3 separate regions of the Homo sapiens genome follow, and all the other regions are linked to region 2. Evidence: promoter capture Hi-C in human tissues and cell types (Jung and others, 2019). All regions are on one chromosome and are shown on one strand. Each heading gives the region's core, a stretch centred on a gene start or on the middle of the fragment in contact. The rest is flanking DNA. Distances are from core to core; before and after follow the strand shown. Region 1 has its middle 38 kb from the start of ZNF248-AS1. Region 2 holds the start of ZNF33A (zinc finger protein 33A). Region 3 has its middle 15 kb from the start of ZNF37A.

Evidence for each region. The method cuts DNA at HindIII sites, captures the fragments that hold promoters and counts their contacts. A contact is called where the count stands out against the background at its distance.
Region 1: a contact is called between a fragment that was not itself captured here and the fragment with the promoter of ZNF33A in region 2, in 2 of the 25 tissues and cell types used here (mesenchymal stem cells and thymus).
Region 3: a fragment that was not itself captured here is called in contact with the fragment with the promoter of ZNF33A in region 2 in 6 of the 25 tissues and cell types used here (H1 embryonic stem cells, adrenal gland, dorsolateral prefrontal cortex and 3 more).

The regions. Positions count from the first base shown.
Region 1 is chr10:37,894,424-37,897,664 of GRCh38, reverse strand. It overlaps the pseudogene ZNF33CP. Among named protein-coding and RNA genes, the nearest start is that of ZNF248-AS1, 38 kb to the right of the region's middle. RefSeq lists an enhancer at 1-442. The HindIII fragment of the contact is 3,993 bases long and covers 1-3,241 here.
Region 2 is chr10:38,009,306-38,012,396 of GRCh38, reverse strand. ZNF33A (zinc finger protein 33A) reads right to left here and starts at 1,722. Exons shown (of 5, transcript NM_006954.2): 1 at 1,614-1,722; 2 at 47-99. The coding sequence starts at 55. RefSeq lists an enhancer at 1,020-1,199. The HindIII fragment of the contact is 9,281 bases long and covers 1-3,091 here.
Region 3 is chr10:38,077,427-38,080,739 of GRCh38, reverse strand. It overlaps the pseudogene EIF3LP3. Among named protein-coding and RNA genes, the nearest start is that of ZNF37A, 15 kb to the left of the region's middle. The HindIII fragment of the contact is 6,422 bases long and covers 1-3,313 here.

The sequences.
Region 1 (3,241 bases), core at 636-3,135, 110 kb after region 2:
CACTTGAGGAGGCAGTCTGCCTGTTCTCAGATCTCCAGTTGCATGCTGGGAGAACCACTGCTCTCTTCAAAGCTGTCAGACAGGGACATTTAAGTCTGCAGAGGTTACTGCTGTCTTTTTGTTTGTGTGTGCCCTGCCCCCAGAGGTGGAGCCTACAGAGGCAGGCAGGCCTCCTTGAGCTGTGGTGGGCTCCACCCAGTTTGAGCTTCCCGGCTGCTTTGTTTACCTAATCAAGCCTGGGCAATGGCGGGCACCCCTCCCCCAGCCTCACTGCCGTCTTGCAGTTTGATCTCAGACTGCTGTGCTAGCAATCAGCGAGACTCCGTGGGCCCAGGACCCTCCGAGCCATGTGCGGGATATAATCTCGTGGTGCGCCGTTTTTTAAGCCCGTCGGAAAAGCGCAGTATTCGGGTGGGAGTGACCCGATTTTCCAGGTGCCGTCCATCACCCCTTTCTTTGACTCAGAAAGGGAACTCCCTGACCCCTTGCGCTTCCCAAGTGAGGCAATGCCTCGCCCTGCTTCGGCTCGCGCACAGTGCACGCACCCACTGACCTGCGCCCACTGTCTGGCACTCCCTAGTGAGATGAACCCGGTACCTCAGATGGAAATGCAGAAATCACCCGTCTTCTGCGTCGCTCACCCTGGGAGCTGTAGACCGGAGCTGTTCCTATTTGGCCATCTTGGCTCCTCCCCGTCTATTCTCTTATTTACTTTGGAAGATGACTTATGGTAAAAGGTTTGCCAAATTCTTTACATTCACAGGGGTCATGTCCTATTTGATTTCTCCTACGTATTTTCAGGTATGAATTGCTTGAGAAAGATTTCTCTCATTTCTACATTTATAAGCTTTTTCCCATGTGTATCCTTGGATGTGCTATGAGACTTGATTTCTCAGAGGGTTTCCCACACTGGTTACATTCATAGGGTTTCTCCCTTGTACTTCTCTGATGTACTTTGAGGCCTGAGCTGCAACTGAAGCTTTTCCCACACTGATTACATTCATAGGGTTTCTCTACTGTATGTGTTCTCTAATGTTTAGTGAGATCTGACTTATGATAGAAGGACTTCCCTCATTCATTACATTTATAAGGTTTTTCCCCTGTGTGTATTCTCTGATGTACAGTAAGGACTGATTTCTCAGAGAAGGACTTCCCACACTCATTACATCCATAGGGCTTCTCCCCTGTGTGTGTTCTCTGATGTGATTTGAGGACTGAGTTGCAAATAAAGGTTTTCCCACATTTATTACAGTAATAAGATTTCTCCCCTCTGTGTGTTCTCTTATGTACTGTATAGTCTGCCTTATGGTAGAAGGTTTTCCCACATTTTTTACACACATAGGGTTTGTCTCCTGTATGCATTCTCTGGTGTATTGTAAGGTATGAATTCCTAGAGAAGAATTTCCCACATTCCTTACATTCACAGGGCTTCTCACCTGTGTGTGTTCTCTGATGTTTGGTTAGGTCTGATTTATTGTAGAAGGTTTTTCCACGTGCATTACATTTATAAGGTTTTTCCCCTGTGTGTATTCTCTGATGTACTGTGAGGACTGATTTCTCAGAGAAGGATTTCCCACACTCAGTATATTCATAGGGTTTCTCCTTTGCATGTGTTCTCTGATGTACTTTTAGGCCTGAGTTACGACTAAAAGTTTTCCCACATTGAGTACATTCATAGGGTTTTCCCCCTAGGTGAGTCTTCTGATGTTTAGTGGCATCAGACTTGTGGCAAAAGGTTTTGCTACATACCTTACATTCATAGGGTTTCTCGCCTGGGTGAGTTCTCTGATGTATTGTAAGATATGAACTCCTAGAGAAAGATTTCCCACATTCATTACATTCATAGGGTTTCTCACCTGTATATGTTTTACGATGTATTGTGAGAACAGAGTTGCTTATGAAGGTTTTTCCACATTGATTACATTCATAGGGTTTCTCCCCTGTGTGAATTCTCTGATGTACTGTAAGATATGACTTATGATAGAAGCTTTTTCTACATTCCTTGCATTCACAGGGTTGCTCTCCTGTGTGAGTTCTCTGATGTATTATGAGGTGTGAATTCCTAGAAAAGCATTTCCCACATTCCTTACATAGGGTTTCTCTCCTGTGTGGACTCTCTGATGTAGAGTGAGGAGAGATTTCCTAGAAAAGCATTTTTCACATTTATTACATTCATAGGGTTTCTCCCCTGTATGGATTCTTTGATGTTTGGTTAGCTTTGACTTTTCATAGAATGGTTTTACACATGGCTCACATCCACAGACTTCCTCTCCTCTGTGTGTTCTCTGAGTTACATTAAGTACTGACTTCTCGCACAAAGCTTCCCCTGATTTGTTACTTTCAAATATTTTCTCTCTTGTGTTAGGAAAGCTTGATCTGTTAAAATTCCTACACTTTCAATATGTTTATAGTGTTTCACCTCCAAATGAACTTTATGTTTCAAGAAAGGGGACTTCTCAAAGGTTTTTTCATATTCATTAAACTCATAAAAGTTTTCTCTTTTTTCTGACATTTTATGGACCATGAGAGTTGAATTATTACAGAACACTTTATTACATTCATTGTGTACACAAGGACTCGCTCCTGTGTAAGCTTGCTTATATGTAATGAAAACTGCCTTTCCATAGAAATCCTTTTCACATTCCTTATATTCAAAAGATTGCTCTAAATTTTGAATTCTCAGATATGAAATGAAGTCCTCCTTATGACTGAGACATTTTCCATTTTGAATAAACTCATAAGGTTTCTCTTCCATATGAGTTTTTTCATGGTTACTATTGAGGAATAGTTTTCCATATGCACTGAGGTCATGAGGCATCTTTCTTAAATAGTTTTTCTTACTATTAAATAAATCTGAAATGTATTGCAAACTCATACCACATAAGTCACATTTACAAGGTATTTTTATGGAAGGAAGTTGGTGTATGCTGAAATCAAACACTTTTCCTACTATGTTACCTCTCTCTATAGTCAGTGTTCTATTGTTGATATATGGAGCTTGCCAGATATGTCTGTCCTGGATTTCCTGACAGTGCTCTAGTTGATCATCCACTTTGCAGACTTCTAGAAATAAGAAAAAATAACCACAACTTATGAGTCTTGTGATATTTGTGATGAAATTACACTTACATACATACGCGCTTTTATATGTAGTTGACTTAGTTTCCTGGAATAAAGTAATCCAAAAAGTGTTAATCTCCTCCAGCCCTTTGGCTAGAAGAAAATAAACATGAAACCTTAT
Region 2 (3,091 bases), core at 473-2,972:
ACAAAGTCCACTGCAAAATAAAGTAGGGAATTAATAAACAACTTACCTTGTTCATTTTGTTCTGTTCTTGGAAAGACGGAGACAACTCTGAAGATACAGCTGAGTTAGAAAAAGAGGAATGGGGTCATGAAAGATTTGGCCTGCCTGGCAACTCCTGGATTCTTCCGCCCTAAGAAGCCATACACACCCACTAGGTAAAATGCTTCCTCTGGGAGAGTATCAATGTCCTCTGACACTTTGGAATAGGGGGTAGAAATGGTGGAAGAACACTTCGGAATAGGCGGTAGAAATGGTGAAAGAATAACTCCAACATAATTATGTAGCTCTTGGGCACAAGATTTTTTACCGGGTGAAAGTAAATATTTGCTTCCTAAGGATTTCAATCTCCCTCGGTGTTCACAAAAAAAAGTATAATGACAATATTGGCCAAACAAGTTAACAATATATTTAATGAAGGAACATTAACACTAAAACCATTGTAAAAAATAGGACTAAGCTATCTATTTTCCCAGTAATGTTACTTAACCTCTGGTGAGTGACTCCACAGAAAGCCATAAGCGGCAGTGCTTCAAAGAAAAAATCAGTTTTAATTTCTTCATCTAACTTTGTTGCTATTTCTCAAAGGGATATTTTAAACTTGCTTTGATGTGTGTGGAAAAGTAGACAGTACTGGCTTAGGGGTCAGGAGATGTGACTTAGTCTTCCCTACTAACTGTGATCCTGAACAAGTCAGTGACCTTAACAAACAAAAAAACAAAAAAAATCTTTTTCTTCTAACAAATGAGGCAAAATTAGGTAATTCTTTGTTTTTGTTTTTTTTTGAGACGGAGTTTCGCTCTTGTTGCCCAGTCTGGAGTGCAATAGTGCGATCTTGGCTACCTGTAACCTCCGCCTCCCGGGTTCAAGCAATTTTCCGCCTCAGTAGCTGGGATTACAGGCATGCGCCACCACGCCCGGCTACTTTTCGTATTTTTAGTAGAGACGGGGTTTCACCATGTTGGTCAGGCTGGTCTCGAATTTCTGACCTCAGGTGATCCACCCGCCTCGGCCTCCCAAAGTGCTGGGATTACAGGCGAGAGCCACCGCGCCAGGCCAAAATTAGGTAATTCTTGAAGATCTTTCCTGAGTGCAAGATCAAGTCAGGACAGAGGAACAGCAAATACCAAGATGCAGTGATGGACCTGACTGGAGGTCAGTTCGGAACCTAAAGAGGATGAATGCAATACGTGCAACCGAGTCTGCCGGTCTGGCGGGCGACTGCACCCGCCTTTCCCCGCCCACGTACCGCGGCGCCCTAGCACACGCGCACAGGCTAGACAAGAGAACTGCCCCTCCCGCAAGGCTCAGCGCGCGGACTGCGCAAGCGCACATGCCCTCCTCCGCGGCCCCCACAAATGGGGCGACACACGCTGCGTACCCTGCTCCGTACAGAGGCCGCGCCTTTGAGGAACCGGCCTAGCGTCGTGGCCCACACGCTGCAGCCCCGCCGTCCCCGCCTTCCCCTATGAGGTCCCCGGGCCTCCTCCCCACCACTTGGTACCGGCCCCCTGCCGCCCGCCCCAGGAGTCGCGCGGGGCTCCCTCTCTCTCCCTGCCCAACCCACTGGGGCTTACCCCACTCCCTCGTCGGGTTGCATTCGCCATAGAAAAGCGCGTAGACCCTTGAAATCCCGGGACCGCCTCCCACGCAAAACCTGAGAAAAACAAAAGGAAAGGCGGAAACGCAGACGTAGCCGGCGGACGAGGCATGCGCAGAGCCCACGCGCACAGCTTGATGCTGTTGGCGCCCTACCTGGAAACTACCTTTCCCGTGAGGCCGGGCGAGCAGCCCTTCGGATTGGTAGAGAAGTGCCCCGCTAGGCAGTGGGCAGATGCGGTCTGAGTTGGTGCTGGAACTGCCTGCAGCCCTGGCTTTCCCCGGGGCACTCCAAAGGGATATACTGCGGGGGAGGTCTGTGGGCAGTTTAGACGCAGACGCTCAAGGAAAGGACCGCTGCGTGTCATTTTCCGTTTAAATGTTAGGAAATAGATCTCGTCCATACAGTTTAAAAGACTTTCATGCTATCAGCGGTTCTTTGGGAGCGGGGGAAAAAAGGGGAAGGTGCGGCCGGAAAGCTACTTCATCAAAATGGTTAAAGCAATAAACGGAAATTGTAGCTCAGTAAGGAACTAGACATAATCTGAAAGAAGAAAATAAATGTCACGTATGATTTCCTCTGTGACATTAAAATTGCTTGACTAAATGGAAATACTTTTAGTCTATCTGTACCTTTCTTAGGAAGACAAAATTCCTAAAAGAATATCAACAAATTTTTGTTATGTATTTTTTCTCTTTGATCTTTAGTGTATTCTGTACTTCACAAAAGCATTCTCAACTTTATCTAGAATAAGTAAAAACCCAAATGAACAGCCAGTATACATTTTAAAAAGCAGGAAAAAAATGCCTAAGGAATATCTGTATCTATCTACATCTATCTATATAATATTGCTCTATTCAAAGTAGTTTGGCACCTGCTCCATGGAAATAAGACAGCTTAAGAGTATTCTTTAATGTGTAGTAGATACAGCATTTCAAAACAGTGAGGGAAAGAATGGAGTATTCCAAAGAGCATGTCATTCCGAGCAATTTGGAATGTAGAGATATACATAGATCACACATGATAAAATCTCACATGTATACAATACTTAAACATTTAAACCACTAAAAGAGTAAAAATTTTTGAAAATTGACAAGTGGACCAGGCACAGTGGCCCACACCTGTAACCCCAGCACTTTGGGAGGCGGAGGCAGGAGGACCACTTGATCCTTGGAGTTCAAGACCAGCCTGGGCACTATAGTGGGACCCCCATCTCTACAAAAAACTAAAAATAACAATTAGCCTGGCATGTAGGCAGGCACCTGTGATCCCAGCTACTCAGGAGGCTGAGGTTGGAGGATCACTTGAGCCCCGGGCTGCAGTAAGCCATCATGGCACCACTGCACTCCAGCATGGGTGACAAAGTGAGACCTTGTCTCAAAAAAAACAACAAGGGATGTGATGCCAAAGACAGAAACTATAAATTTAATATCAGTCACATTTTATAATAGAGAA
Region 3 (3,313 bases), core at 145-2,644, 69 kb before region 2:
AACATCCTCCTCTACATCCAGAGGACCAAGAGCATGTTCCAGAGGACCACATACAAGTATGAGATGATTAACAAGCAGAATGAGCAGATGCATGCACTGCTGGCCATTGCCCTCACGATGTACCCCATGAGTATTGATGAGAGCATTCACCTCCAGCGGTGGGATAAATACAGCAACAAGATGCTGTGCATGCAGAAAGGTGACCCAGAAGTCTATGAAGAACTTTTCAGTTACTTCTGCCCCAAGTTCCTGTCGCCTGTAGTGCCCAACTACGATAATGTGCACCCCAACTACCACAAAGAGCCCTTCCTGCAGCAGCCGAAGGTGTTTTCTGATGAAGTACAGCAGCAGGCCCAGCTTTCAACCATCCGCAGCTTCCTCAAGCTCTACACCACCATGCCTGTGGCCAAGCTGGCTGGCTTCCTGGACCTCACAGAGCAGGAGTTCAGGATCCAGCTTCCTGTCTTCAAACACAAATTGAAGAACCTGGTGTGGACCAGCAGCATCACAACCCTGGATGATGAATTTCAGTCAGCCTCAGAGGTTGACTTCTACATTGATAAGGACATGATCCACATCATGGACACCAAGGTCGCCAGGCGCTATGGGAATTTCTTCATCCGTCAGATCCACAGATTCGAGGAGCTTAATCGAACCCTGAAGAAGATGGGACAGAGACCCTGACGACATTCACATACATTATTCAGGAACCTGTTTTGATATATTATAGGCTACCGTGAAACCTTTACCTAGATCAACCATCAGCCTGTCAACTCAGTTAACAAGATAAGGACCAAAGTGTTTCAAGTGGATCTCAGTAAAGGATCTTTGGAGCCAGAAAAAAAAAAAAAAAAAGAAAAAAAAGATTTGTTCTCAATGAGATTACACGTGGTAATAATTTTTAATTCTCAAATCTGTCTCTTTTTAAAACTTCTGAGATTTATATCTCAGAAGTTCAACCTTTACTATTGTTTTACACATTATTTACAGATCACACATCATTGCCCTCTGTTTCTTTTCCCCTTCAAAAGGTGTATCTTTTTACTTCACTAGAACGGTAATTTTGTCCTTCAACTTTTCCATCAGCTCTTTTAACTTTTCCCTCATATTCTATTTCTGCTGTTATAATACTAAAATATTGATCTCAAAGGTTAAAAAAAATTTTTGCAGATGTAACATGATTTTATATTCTTAACTTTTTGATATGTCTGAATTGTTGCAAGTAATCAGGAAACTTCCCATTCTATTATTAGGTTGGTGCACAAGTAATTGTGGTTTTTGCCATTACTTTCAATGGCAAAAAACCACAATTACTGCACCAACCTAATACTAGGAGCCATATATCTACCTGCTCATGGTGCTAGTTTTCATGTTTACATTCCTCTATAGTACAATGTTCACTCACGACCTTGAATACATTATGCCTGTGTCTAATTAAATTCAAGTATTCATTTCATCAGGTTTGACTTCCAAGTTATTTAAATAGGCTTTATTTAGGTACTCCCCATTCTCAAGTATGCCTTACTCCAGGTTGCTCAGATAGTTGCTCAGATTAACTCAGTGAGACAGTTGGGGTCACAGATTTAATTCATTAAACCACTAAAGCATCAGCCCAGACAGGCATATTTTCAGTTAATTTCAATTAGCCACTCATGAAAGGTTGGCCAGTTGAATGGAAGTTGATTCTTGGCACAGCCATCAACTGGCAATTGGTTTAAAATGTCCTGAGTTCTGAGCCAGATTGGGGGCTGATATAGTTTGGATATGTGTCCCTGCCCAAATCTTATGGTGAATTGTAATCCTCAGTATTGGAGATGACTGGGTGAGAGGTGACTGGGTCACGGGAGTGTATATCTCATAAATGCTTGTTGTTGCTCTTGCAATAGTGAGATCTGGTTTAAAAGTGTGTGACACCTCCTCCTACCTTGCTCCTGCTCTGGCCATGTGATGTGCATGCTCCCACTTAGCCTTCTGTTATGATTCTAAGTTTCCTGAGGCCTCCCCAGAAACCATGCAGATGTCAGTATCATGCTTCCTGTAAAGCTTTCAGAACCCTGAGCCAGTTAAATCTCTTTTCTATATAAATTACTCAGTCTCAGGAATTTGTTTTTTGGTTGTTGTTGTTGTTGCTTTTTTTTGGGGGGGGGGGGGTTGTTTGTTTTGAGACAGAGTCTCGCTCTGTCGCCCAGGCTGGAGTGTGGTGGCGTGATCTTGGCTCACTGCAACCTCCTCCTCCTGGGTTCAAGCAATTCTCCTCCCTCAGCCTCCTGAGTAGCTGGGATTACAGGCGTGTGCCACCACGCCTGGTTAATTTTTGTATTTTTAGTAGAGACAGGATTTCACCATGTTGGTCAGGCTGGTCTCAAACTTTTGACCTCATGATCTGCCCACCTTGGCCTCCCAAAGTGCTGGGATTACAGGCATGAGCCACCGCACCTGGCCAGGAACTTCTTTATAGCAATGTGAGAATGGCCTAATACAGAAAATTGGTACCAAGGAGTGGGGTATTACTATAAAGGTACCTGAAAATGTGGAAGCAGCTTTGGAACTAGGTAATGGACAGAGGTTGAAAGAGTTTGGAGAACTTGGAAGAAGACAGGAAGATGAGGGAAAGTTTAGAACTTCTTAGAAACTGGTTAAATGATTGTGACCAAAATGCTGATAGGGATATGTAAAGTGAAGTCCAGGCTGATGAGGTCTCAGATGGAAATGAGGAACTTATTGGAAACTAGAGCAAAAGTCACACGTTATGCCTTAGCAAAGAGCTTGGCTGGATTTCATCTATGTCCTAGGGATCTATGGAAGTTTAAACTTGACAGTGATATCGTAGAGTATCTGGCAAAAAAAAAAAAAAAAAAATTCTAAGCAGCAAAGTGTTCAAGTGGCATGGGCCAGGTATGGTGGCTCACACCAGTAATCCTAGCACTTTGAGAGGCCAAGGCAGACAGATCACTTTAGCCCACATGGCAAAATCCCATCTCTAAAAATATAAAAAAAATAGCTGGCATGGTGGCTTGAGCCCATAGTCCCAGCTACTCAGGAGGCTGAGATGGGACAATTACCTAAGCCTGGGAAGTCTAGGGTGCAGTGAGCCATGATCATGGCATGGCACTTCAGCCTGGGTGACAGAGTGAGACCTTGTCTCAAAAAAAAAAGAAAAAACAAACAAAAAAAAAACACAAAAAAACTGATGTGACTGCTTCTAACAGCCTATGCTTTGATTTGGGAGCAAAGAAATAAGTTGGAACTTCTATTTAAAAGGTAACCAGAACATAAAAGTTGGGAAAATTTGCATCCTGCAGCCTGGCCATGT